Regions from separate parts of the Homo sapiens genome. Here region 2 is linked to region 1. The links are contacts of gene promoters, found by promoter capture Hi-C in blood cells and fetal thymus (Javierre and others, 2016). All regions are on one chromosome and are shown on one strand. The core of a region is centred on a gene start or on the middle of the fragment in contact, and the rest is flanking DNA. Distances in the headings are between cores, read along the strand shown.

Evidence for each region. The method cuts DNA at HindIII sites, captures the fragments that hold promoters and counts their contacts. A CHiCAGO score of 5 or more calls a contact.
Region 2: a fragment that was not itself captured here is called in contact with the fragment with the promoter of EDRF1 in region 1 in 1 of 17 cell types (naive CD8 T cells); the score reaches 6.5 in naive CD8 T cells.

What each region holds. Positions count from the first base shown.
Region 1 is chr10:125,717,501-125,723,824 of GRCh38, forward strand. EDRF1 (erythroid differentiation regulatory factor 1) reads left to right here and starts at 2,209. Exons shown (of 25, transcript NM_001202438.2): 1 at 2,209-2,415; 2 at 3,704-3,912; 3 at 5,568-5,634; 4 at 6,311-6,324. The coding sequence starts at 2,308. It overlaps EDRF1-DT (EDRF1 divergent transcript), which reads right to left and starts at 1,993. Exons shown (of 5, transcript NR_033847.1): 1 at 1,922-1,993. RefSeq lists enhancers at 1,325-1,434, 1,915-1,994, 2,110-3,092. The HindIII fragment of the contact is 5,171 bases long and covers 1,411-6,324 here.
Region 2 is chr10:128,040,234-128,046,557 of GRCh38, forward strand. PTPRE (protein tyrosine phosphatase receptor type E) reads left to right here. Exons shown (of 21, transcript NM_006504.6): 3 at 642-757. The coding sequence starts at 649. Among named protein-coding and RNA genes, the nearest start is that of AS-PTPRE, 19 kb to the right of the region's middle. RefSeq lists enhancers at 4,726-5,227, 5,228-5,727. The HindIII fragment of the contact is 1,738 bases long and covers 3,575-5,312 here.

The DNA of each region.
Region 1 (6,324 bases), core at 959-3,458:
GCAGCACATCAAAAAGCTTATCCACCATGATCAAGTGGGCTTCATCCCTGGGATGCAAGGCTAGTTCAATATATGCAAATCAATAAATGTAAAGAATAAATTTTAAATCACTTCATTTTACGGCTCAGAGGTCTGTTTTGTGGACACAGAGACAGAAATGGAGACGTTTTTAAAATTAAGATCATATTGCACATTGGCTTTTTTTTTTTTATACGGAGTCTCGCTCTGCTGCCCAGGCTGGAGTGCAGTGGTGCAATCTCGGCTCACTGCCAGCTCCGTCTCCTGGGTTCACACCATTCTCCCGCCTCAGGCTCCTGAGTAGCTGGGACTACAGGTGCCTGCCACCAAACCTGGCTAATTTTGTTTTTGTATTTTTAGTAGAGACGGGGTTTCACCGTGTTAGCCAGGATGGTCTCGATCTCCTGACCTCGTGATCCACCCGCATCTGCCTCCCAAAGTGCTGGGATTACAGGCGTGAGCCACCGCGCTAGGCTGCATATTGGCTTTTTAAAATTTCACTTATCACTTAACATTATATGATATGCAATTTAAATGTTCTTAAATATTCCTGAAAAACAAGTTTATGGTTGCACAGGGTTTATTTTCTACCAAAACCAAATTTGACTATCCTCCTCCTAGTGTTAGATATTATGTTCAACTTTTCACCATAAAAAACAATGCATAACTTGCAAAAACCAAAAAAGAATTATTGGCTGCAATATTCAAATGAAATGATAAAAATCAAAATCAATACATGTTGAAGTAAATGTCTACAAAATACACTATTATATCAAATTAACTGTTAAATTTAATTCACTATTATTATTTTTTTAAGACAGAGTCTCACTATCGCCCAGGCTGGAGCGCAGTGTTGCCATCTCTGCTCACTGCAACCTCTGCCTCCCAGGTTCAAGCGATTCTCCTGCCTCAGCCTCCCTAGTAGCTGGGATTACAGGCGCCCACCACCACATCTGGCTAATTTTTGTATTTTTAGTAGAGATGGGGTTTCACCCTGTTCGTCAGGCTGGTCTCGATCTCCTGACCTCAGGCAATCTGCCCACCTCGGCCTCCCAAAGTGCAGGGATTAAAGGCGTGAGCCACCGCGCCCGGCCTGTTAAATTTAATTCATAAAATTGTTTTGTTACATTTGAAAGCAATTTGTGAGTTGAATGCTTACTCATCAGGAGCATTCCTGAAAACGGACAGGACAGTGAGTTGTAAGAGCCAAACGTGAATTACAAATTGAGACAGCCAAATTGCAAGAGCCAAGTTAATTTTTAAAAACACTTTCTGTATCTTACGGCACAACAAAACACTTTTACTACAAAACATGTATTGTATAACGGATGTGGCTGCGTTTGACAGTTTGAGATGACACTGAGGAGTGTGAAAGAGAGCCTGGACCTTCAAAGCTTGCAAACGGCCCGGGCTATTTCTCCACCTCTTCGCTACTCAAAGCGCTGGCATCGTTTCCTGGGAACCTGTGAGAAATGCCGAGTCTCGGACCCATCCAGAGCGCCCGAATGGAAACCTAGGCGTTACGAGGCCCCAGGTTCAGCGTCTCACGGGTCCTGCACCACCTGGGACGCCCCGCAAGCAGCGGGCATGCCGGGCCCCCAGAAGACTCCGAAAGCCACCCATTCCCTAAACGGGGAGGGCCTCGTCCGCGCGTCCCAGCGCCCTCCCCGGAAGCCCCGCCGCTCCCACACCCAGGATGGGGCCACATGGGCACTAAAAGGCGGGCAGGAGCGCCCAGTCTCGAGATGGCTGGCTCGCCTTTCCAGTCCGGGCCCTCGGGGTGCCCGTGTGAAAAGATGTGACACTGAAGCCTGGGGAAGAAGTTTGAACCTCTCACTAATTCACGTAACGGGAGCCGCCGGCAGCGCTGACGGCTGCACCTCCCCTCCCACGCGGACACTACCTGCAGGATCGGACGACCCCCAGAACTGTTTGCCAACAAAGACATGCAGGGGGCGGAGCCTGAGCGTCAGATACCGTGAGCGGCGTGCAGAGGGCGGAGCCTAGGAGTCAGATACCGCGAGAAGTAGTCTCCCGAAGAGGTTCGGACAAGCGCAGGCGCACTACAATTCCCGCCCTGGCCGCGAAGGTGGCACCCGCAGCGGGAGGCGGGGCCGGGCCTTCGGGACAAAGATCGCGAGATTTAATGGCGAGTCACAGCTACTTCTTCCTGGCAGAGACCGGAAGTGCGGTCCGCGGAGCGTCTCTGGCGCTTACCCTGCTTTGGGCCTGCGTTGCTGCTGCTGCTCCTCCGCTCCCCCGTCGTATCGCCTGCCCTGGATCGAAGTGATGGGGGATGCCAAGGAGGCCGGAGCCGAGGGTCCGCCGGCCGGGGCCGCCGCTCGAGGAGGGCTCAGCCTCCTGTCCCAGGGAGAATCCGAGGAATCTTCTGCACAGGTGAGTCCTCCGCGGAGGGGGACCTGCCAGGGATGTGGGAGCGGAGGACCCGCTCCACCGGGGAGGGATGCCACGGTTCCCGGCAGATTCTGGAGGCTTCTCCATGTTTCCCTGACACCCCCAAAACAGGGAGTTGAAGTCCATGCTCCAGTCGGCAGGTATTCGTATTAAAAGCAGTTCTGGTAGCCGACAGGTGAATTAGATACGATCTTTCCTCTCAAGGAGGGTACATGTAAATATGTCGTTCCAAAACGTGGCACAGTCGTGCAAAGCAGGAGGGAAGAAACGGTGCCAGGTAGTGACTCGCCGAGAATGAGACCGAACTAATTCACAAAGGGTGTAAAATGTTTGCCATGCAGAAGAGGTACTGCGTGAAAGGTTAGAATATTGAACCCAGACGCCGAACTTGCTTTGGGAGTGTGCAAGTGCAGGCTGTGAGGAACGAACCCCCAATGCCTTTCTATGAAGTTAGAGACTCAAGAGTATTTGAACCATGCATGCATGCATGAACCGATGCATCGATTACTAAATATTTGCATTAAAACAAAAAGCCCAAATGTTCTACCAGACTATTTTATGAATGATGTGTTATTAAAATTAAAATACATCTTTGGCCGGGCGCGGTGGCTCACGCCTGTAATCCTAGCACTTTGGGAGGCCGAGGTGGGTGGATCACCTGAGGTCGGGGAGTTCGAGACCAGCCTGGCCAACATGGCAAAACCCTGTCTCTACTAAAAATACAAAAATTAGCCGGACGTGGTAGTGCACGCCTGTAATTCCAGCTACTAGGGAGGCTGAGGCAGGAGAATGGCGTAAACCCCAGAAGCCGAGGTTGCAGTGAGCCATGATTGCTCCACTGCACCCTAGCCTGGGCGACAAAGCAAGACTGCGTCTCAAAAAAAAAAAAAAAAAGAATTAAAATACATCTTTAATACTGAAAATAGGCTTTACTAAAGTTTGCATCTAGTTAACATGATACCATTGAGTCTCCTTGGTTTCTGCTTCTCCACTTTACATGAATACATTTTAAAAGAGATGTGGGTGGTCCATTTTCTAGCTGATAACCATAACCATCATACTCCTTGACTCATCTTTTTTCTTTGAAGTTGGTGTAAAAGAACTAAGTAAATGTTACCATTTATGCTCAAATTTATTAAGTGCTGTTAGTAACATGTGGCATACGTTCCTTGTGAAGCCTGGTGTGACAGGTTCTTGTTTTCTTTTTATAAAGGTGAGATTTTTCGTTCTTAGTAATTTTCATTAAAGTTTCACCCAATGTGTTAATTAGGGATCAGCTTTATTTCTTGGAGGCAATGAAGTGAAGAGCCGAGCTGTGGTGAAATACTCTTCTGCCCCTCCTCGAACAGCATTTGCACGCCTTGAAGAGAAAACAGACTTGAAACTCCCACCTGCCAACTGGTTACGAGAGAGTGCCAAACTAGGGCCAGCAGGAACTACCATTCTTGGCAACAGCAAGAAAAGCAAGCCATTTTCAAGGTAAATATTAATCAGTGGCATTTTTACCTGCCCCTCCACCCTCACTTAAAACTCTTATTTGCTTTTAAATTCAGTTTGTAATGCCTATTAACTTGTCGAGATTTCTCTTTAGAGAAAGATCACATTTGATTTTCAAAGGCTTTTTATTCTGATAATAGATGATGTTAAAACATGAAGATATACATACAATATCAATTGCATATGCTTCTTTTAAGTCTACGTCATGTTATCAGCAAAGATGAGTTTTGACTGCCAAAGTTCAATCAGCCCTTTCATTTTAGCCAATTTGCATACCTTTTGGATATGTGAATACAAAGGATCAGCTTGGTGCATGAGGAGGAAAACCTTGAACATTCCTTCATCTTTCCTGTGGAGTTTTTCATTAAATGGTGGCAGGTTGATCTGGAAAAGCCAGATTTAAAAACCCAGCATGTTGGGTGACCTACACCTTGACTTTGACACCAGAACTGATGGTGTTCAAAGTTGAGAGAGTAGCCTGAGGTCTTATAGAGAAAAATGTATTAATGTACATACTGTAGGACATTTAATGTGTAGGGTTCTCTTTTCTTCTTCCCCCTTCTCAGCAACTCAATCTAAAATATTTCCATGTAACTTGTAGCAAGAGGCACAAATACACTAATACTTTATGAGCTGGTATTTTGGAAATTATCCTAAAGCCTCAGAAAATAAAAGTTATATTTGCAAAAATGCTGTTTGTTTGTAGCATCATTTATAGGAGCAAAAAGTTGGGAATAACCCAAATATCATTTTTTAAAAGAATGGCTTAATCAGTTGTGATTTGTCAACATAATTAAATGTTGTGAGGAAATTTGAATAATTATATTGACTCTATACAAATGCTGTGGCAAGTATTTATATGCTTATCTCATTTAATTCTCACAACAACTCTTTGAGATAGGCACTGTTAATTATATTGCACCTGAGAAAACGGAAGCTGAGAAGAGCTAAATAATTTGGCTCAAGCATACAGTAAATCACAAAGCATGCTTTGCTGTTAGGTAGTCCTTGGTAAGTGTCCTGACTCTGCCATTTAGTAGTTGGAACATGGTGATGTCGGGTACCTTTCAGGCTTATAGACTATAGATGTGCTTCAGGTGGTACGTGGCATCAGTTGGCTGCTCAATTAACATTTTTTTTTAATTTCCTTTTGTGGCTGAATTGGTGTCAGGTACATTTTTTTCATGTATTTTTTTAAGAGGTATTGTATATCACTAGAAACACAATCTCAGAAAGTAAAATCCTGATAAATGTTTCTGTTTCTGTTTTTCTTATCTCTCCACCTAAAAAGAATAAAGTTTTGAACTATTTTCCCTTGGAGACTTTGAGTTTTGTGATTACAAAAATAAAGAATAATTGTTTTTATTCTAAATATTTCCTACTGGATGCTTCTAATGATTATTACCATGTTTTATCAAATCTAAGATGCCATTGACTTTAAGACACACCATTATTTTAGTACCACTAAGAAAAAAAAACTTGCCAACTGTGATGGTGATACACATCCTGGTTTCAGAGTTGTTAAAATGTGGAAAATGTGTATCCTAGAAGCAATGAGCTACAGTATTGTTATTAAGCTCTACTTGCATGATTATGAGCATGACCTCATAACCTGTGTCCTTTTTTCTCTTTGGTAGCTTTGGCATGGCATATGACTTTATTGATTCAGTGGGAAATGATGTGGATGTTGTCTCTGACTCTGAAGTAAGTGTTATTTGTCGCTTAATGTAATTTTGGAGGTGTTTTGTGATAGGTGTTTTATATCATGCTGTGTTTTGCATAATATAAATGTGCAAGTCTTGAGAAATTAGTGATGAAATAAGATAAAACTTACCTGATTATTGAGTATCTTTTTTGTTGTTAAAGTATCATTGTTTACCACATTTGTATTTAAAGAGGAAGGAATAATCAATCCCCAAACACTGGCAGTGGTAATAATATATTGATGGTTATATTTTAATGATAGTAATTGAAACTGATAATAGTGTTTGGGATTATTCTGTATATGTTACCAGTTGAGTTACAAATGATATTTCTAGTAAAATCTATTGGATCCTTAGTGGCTTTGATCTGATATGCTAAAAGCCTGGGTCAGCATAACAGTGTGACGTATACACCCTTAACTTTAAGAAATCCTATCATGTAAAAATAAATGTTTGACTGTCACTAACATAATGTGACTCATAAAGTGTACGTGATTCTGGTTTGAAAGCTCCGTCCTCTGTGTGTTTGCATGTAGCTTTTTGTTTAAAGTTCTATTTGTATAACCTTAAGGAAATAAGGTTTATTATGCTTTAAAATGAATGAAGCTAAAATTTAAAAGATTCCAAATCACACTAAAACAGTCTTTCTAAACTATTTTTTCTCTTAATTTTTTAAGAACATAAAAAAACT
Region 2 (6,324 bases), core at 3,194-5,693, 2.3 Mb after region 1:
GAGCCAGACCAAGCATGTAGGAGCTAGACCGAGTGTGCTGGAGTCAGACTGAGTGTGCTGGAGCAGCGAAGAACAGAGAACTTGGCTGCAGCTGGGTGATGAGGCTGCATGAACTAGGCCCTGAAAGGATCGAGGTTTCCCAGGCAGAGTGAAGGGGGATGAAGAAACCGATTGAAAAGCAGTGTCTTGCTGGGTGTGAAGAGGACAGCGTGGCCAGAGAACAGGGCTTGAATGGGAGGGGTAGAGTTAGCAGGGCGAGTGGAGGGTGGATGGTAGAGGGTCCAGGATGCCAGGCTAGGTCACCCAGATGTGATTTCTGCTAAGTGGTTCCAGGGAGGGCAGGGGTCTGGGATGAGATCACCCTGGGTTCCAGTCCCTGATCTGCCCCCACTAACCATCAACCAAGCAGGTCCTTTGAGTCCTGGTTCCCTCCTTTGAGTGAATGTCCACAGTCAGTGACTGTATCCCCCTGGTGTTGAGAAGCCTCAGTGAGATGATCCGTGAAAGTGACAGGCAAAGTTCTTGGCTCAGAGAAAGCCCTGAAATGAAGTTGGCTCTTCTCCTCATCATCACTGCCTGGCACCGGAGGGTCCCACAGCTGCTGCTGGATGACCTCTGAGCCTGTCCCTGCCTCTCTGCAGGTCCACCATGGAGCCCTTGTGTCCACTCCTGCTGGTGGGTTTTAGCTTGCCGCTCGCCAGGGCTCTCAGGGGCAACGAGACCACTGCCGACAGCAACGAGACAACCACGACCTCAGGTAAGGACCCCTTTCCCTGGCTGCCTCCCCTACTACCTCCTCCTAAGCTCCTGGGACCATTCAGAGGGTGATAAAGGGGCTTAGGGTAAGAGAAGAATGGTGTGGCTGAATTTCTTAGTGTGCTTTTAATAGTTTGTGCCTCTAAAAACAGGCAGGCTAAATAAGCTAGTTTAGCATTTGGTTGTTCAGCAAAGCTTAGTGTTCTGGAGGTGACCCATCTACAACCCCAGCTGAGAGTCAGGGTCAGCCTTGGCTGGAGGCAGGAGTGCAAAAGGGTTAAAAATCCCCCAAAATCCCCTTGTGCAGAAAACCAACCATGAACATACATGGATGAGGCGATGTGACAGTTAATGATAGGAACTAAAGAATTATTCTTAGGCCGGGTGCGGTGGCTCATACCTGTAATCCCAGCACTTTGGGAGGCCGAGGTGGGCAGATCACGAGGTCAAGAGATTGAGACCATCTTGGCCAACACGGTGAAACCCTGTCTCTACTAAAAGTACAAAAATTAGCTGGGCGTGGTGGTGGGCGCCTGTAGTCCCAGCCACTCGGGAGGCTGAGGCAGGAGAATCACTTCAACCTGGGAGGCGGAGGTTGCAGTGAGCTGAGATTGTGCCACTGCACTCTTGCCTGGCAACAGACAGAGACTACGTCTCAAAAAAAAAAAAAAAAAAAAAAAAAGAATTATTCTTAATATTTTAGGTCAGATATTGGCGTCATGGTTAGTTTTATTTTTAAAAAGAAGAGTCCTTGCCTTTTGACATGCCTGCTGAAGGGTTCACGAGTGAACTGTGATGTCTGGGCTTTATGCAGAAAAGAGCAAGAGGGAAGTGGGGGTGGGGGCTTGTGAACAAAGTCACATCAAGAGCCCCACATGATTCCCTAACCCTGGACAAATGTCCTGCAAACCCTGGACAAATGTCCTGCAAATGTACCACTGGCCCCAGGAGGAGGAAAGAGTAAAGATTTCTGGTGACAGAACCTCTAGCAAGGAGAGCAGTTCTGAGCGCCCACCTGTCTTTTTCCTCTTCATGTTGAAACCTCAGAGAAATCCAAAACCCCAAAAATGAGAGACCAGAAGCTGCCCGCAAATATTAACTTGCCTCTTTGCAAGCCAGCCTTTCAGGGGCAGGTCACTGGTGGTTCAAAGAGTTATTTCAACCCACAATCCCGACTTTTCTTCCCAACGCTAATCGACTGGCCACGTAGAAACATCTGACAAACTGCCCGGATGTACCCTCACATCCAGGAGCCACAATGGCAGAACATCCGTTTGCGCAACAGTGGGGAAGAATCTGCCCGAGCTCTGCAGACAGTCCCTCGGGTGGCACTGTGGGCACCGGCAGGATGACGTCCACTCCACATCTGAGGCTTTTCAGTTTATTTGAAAACAAAATTATTGGGCTCACATATTGCCATAGACATGGGGTGTTACTTGCAGGAGGAGGACACTGTCATGTGACCTCAGCACCCAGAGCAGAACTAAATGTGAAACTCACACCTTGGTCCAGCCTCTGCCAGGGCCTCTGCGTGCTTAGCAAGGCTGCTGGTCCACGAGCAAGAGGGAAATGGGCCTCGGGTTATAAGGCGCAGACGGGCTCGTTTGACCTAGAATTGTGGAGGGGAACCTGACCCTGTGAAGTGCCCTTTAAATCTTCATCTGACCCCTGGAAGAAGTATGAAGGACCATTTCAGATGATAACACGTTTCCACAGTGTGCCAAAATAATAGGAAGCTGTTTCATTTGTTCATCGAACAAAATATATTCAGTACTCATGCAGACAAATTCTTTTACAGAAGGAATTGAAGGTAAATGTTTACAAATTATGTAATAAAATGTTATCTATAAAAAATAATACGTAAAAGAACACAGTCGAAAAATGAGTAGAGAATATGACCAGGTAGAATACAAATATCTAATTATGTTTCACTAATCATGAAAAGATGCTCAACTCTCTAGAAATTAGAGAAATGCAAGTTAAAATGACATTATCATTTTACCTATCAGATGGACCAAAATGCAAAGGGTTGGCAAAATATCCCAGAGAAGAGAAACTGGCTCCATCGCACATTATGGGCAGCATTCCGCAACCTTTGTGGCACCAGGGACTGGTTTAATGGAAGACAGTTTTTCCGTGGAATTGGGGTGGGGGGTGGTTTGGGGATGATTCAAGTGCATTATATTTATTTTGTACTTTATTTCTATTATGATTACATTGTAACATATAATGAAATAATTATACAACTCACCATCATGTAGAATCAGTGGGAGCCCTGAGCTTGTGTTCCTGCAACTAGACGGCCCCTCTGGGGGTGATGGGAGACAGTGACAGATCACCAGGCATCAGGTTCTCTTAAGGAGCACGCAACCTAGATCCCTGGCATGCGCAGTTCACAATAGGGCTCACGGTCCTGTAAGAATCTAATGCCGCTGCTGATCTGACGGGGGGCGGCGCTCAGGCGATAATGCCTGCTCACCTGCCACTCACCTCCTGCTGTGTGGCCCAGTTCCTAACAGGCCACAGACTGATATCCATCTGTGTCCTGGGGGAGTTAGAGACCTCCGCTGTGGATGAATGTAGAAGTTGGACACTTGGGGCTGCCATCTTGGCAATTGTGTTAAAATGTAACAGGCGTACAGGCTAACACAGAAGCTGTCCTACAGAAACACTTGCGAGACACAAAGATATATATGTGTGTGTGTGTGTGTTGCAGAATTGTAGGTAATAGCAGAAAAGTTGGAAACAACTTAAATGTCCATCCTATTTTGGTCTATCCAAAAAGTGGAATCCAAGCAGCTATTAAACAGAATGAGGAAGCTTATCTGGGCTGACATGGAAACTCTCCAAGACAGACAGCCGTACCAGAAAAGCAAGCTGGAGAACTGCCCCGTGGTGCATTTCATCTGTTTCTTTCATATTTAATGTGGCTATATGGGGACGTGTCTTAAAATTGGTAGCACTTCACAATTATAATCAGTATCATTTTTTTTCTTTCTTAGTGGTTCTTAAAATAACGATACTTTTTACAGTCCGTGAAGCTGTAGATGAAACGAGAGGAGTAGTATGGTCTATTTATTTCCCAAACCTGCATATTTATGAACGTAAATTTATAGAAGAAAATGTCAGGAAAGATACGCTTTGAAATCTTAATTATGTTTAACTCTGGCAAAGAGAACAGGTTCCTGAACATTGAAAATTTTAGGCCGGAGTGAGTTGGGACCTTAAACCATTGTCTGCACACCTGTCCTTGAGTGAGCCACATCTTTTCAGTATGGACTTGCTCCGCCTCTAGGGCCCCTGGGGAAGGAGGGCTTGGAATGAAGGTGGGAGAGGAAAAGAGGGATGGAGATAAGATAGGGGACACAGTGAGAGCAGCTGTGCCCTGGGGCAGAACTGAGGTAGTCCCTGGAAGACCCCGGCTCTTGGCCAGAGCTCAGGATCAGCTTCCTGAGCAGAGGGTGCTGGGTGGCTACACTCCAGCCAAGGTTGCCATTCTCTTTGTCTCCTCCAAAGTCACATTCAAGCCTAAGGTTTTCAACTTTCAGGATCAGATTCTATGTAAGCAAACACACACACACACAAGTTGCAAGTGTATGTATGTATAAAATTGGTGTGAACATACACACACTTCACTTTGGGCAATAGCTAGACAGTCATACAGGAAGAAGGCTGCTTCAGGATGACCACCCTGGGGACTGGCCACCCTGACCTCTGTCCCACCCCGTCAGAGCCACAATAACATGAAATGAAAATAAACTGTGACAGGAATTTCTTCTCAGATGACTCCCTGACTCCTGGCTGGACCACATTGGTGCCCAGAGGACATATTTTTGTTTTCTTCCTGGTCCACACCATTTAAAAAAAATGTTTTTAAATTGAATTTCTTACCAATATTTAAAAATCAGAAAATGTTTACATAAAAATATGAATTTCTTCTTTAGGAAAGTGGGAAGAACTAGGCACTGTGGGCACCCCTTGTGCTTGGCCCCAGTGGGCTGGAACTCAGAAGTAGCCATCCCTGCAGGCAGGACATGGGGAGTCCCAACTCTCGCCCCCACCTGGCCTCCCCACACCACCCAGGGATGTTCTTACCTGCCCCTTGAAGGCCATTGGGTTTCTGATCCTGATCTCTGGCCTCCTGAACAGAGGTAGCTACTAAGAAACACCAGGAACAGAGCTGGGGAAGCCACTGGCCCTGTGACCCATCCCTTCTGCCCGTGTGCACGGCCCCTTTCTGGGCTTGGGTGGTTCAGCCCCGTCTTCTATGGAAGTACCCATGTCTGTGACCGCAGCCTTCACTACAGGCAGGAACGTGGAGGCCAGACCCACGGAGGGCTGGTGGGGCCCAGGTGCTCCCTCGTGTCTCTCTCTGATGAGAGGACCCCATGAGTTGGCTTGGACTAAACTTAGTAGTCACCATCTCTGCAGAAGCTGAGCCCAGAGCCTGACCTCTGTGTGATGCAGAAGTGGGAAGTTTCATTGCCTGGGGCCCCGGGAGATGAGGGCAGATGTACCTGGGTACATTCGAGAGGGAGGAGGGGGACCGAGGCCCAAGCTTTCTGGCTGAGTCTGGAGTGTGAGCAGCAGCCAGGCCCTCCGTGGGGCTGGGCTCCAGGCTGCCCCTCCCTCCGTGTCAGGGGTCTTCCCACTCAGCCTGTCGGAGTTGCTCCAGGGCCCTGGCAGAGTGGAGAGGGGTGCTCTCTGGAGCTGCAAGTGTGGAAGCCTCAGGCCAGCTCACTTCCCCAGGGAAGCTCTGCTGTGGGCAGGTTGGAGGTCAAAGGCGGGGGACTGTGGCAGCCACACCCAGCCACTCATCCTAGCACCAACCGAACCTTGTGTGGGGCCAGAACCAGCTCCTCTGGGCCAGGGTCACAGACACCTGAGTGTGGGGGCTGCAGAGGACAGCCAGGCTGCCAGGCTACTGACACTGCTAGCCAGATGGGGGAGGCACGGACCCCACCTGGAAGGTGGGCACTTAGTGGGTGGGCCAGGTGAACAGTGCCCTCTCTCACGGCTGGGGCCACCTCCGCATCACAGACCAGCTGTTTCCTCTGTGAACTTCAACATCTAATGGTCACCCACGTCCCTAAAACTTCATCATTTATGAGAAACGATGGTGCGGACCACTCATAGGGTGCCAGAGTCAGTGCCAGGCCTGGGAGGGTAGGGGATGAGGGAGGAAAAGCCACACCTTCCCTGGGGAGTTTATAACCTAGGGTGCAAGGCGGAAGGCATGAGGGTCCCTTTTAGAATCCAGATGAGGGGTGTGAGGTGAGCGGAGCCTCTGGGGCTGCGGAGCCCTCCCAGTGCCCGGAGCACCCTCGGGAGGCCGTGCCAGCCCTCAGGAGGAAGCGCATGGACCCTGCGCTGGGCTCAGGGCAAGTGATTGGTGCTTCTGGGAACTTAAAGAGTTGGAAGCCCGGTCGTTGCCTTCGAGGGGCTTCCCCAGAAACCCGGGAGCCAAGGCAGTCATGCTGAGGCCTGTTCACTCATGGCAGAGCGAGGTTTGCGCTTTGAGGCATCCAGGGCCCCTCTGGGTCCACAAGAGAGGAGTCCAGTGGGCTT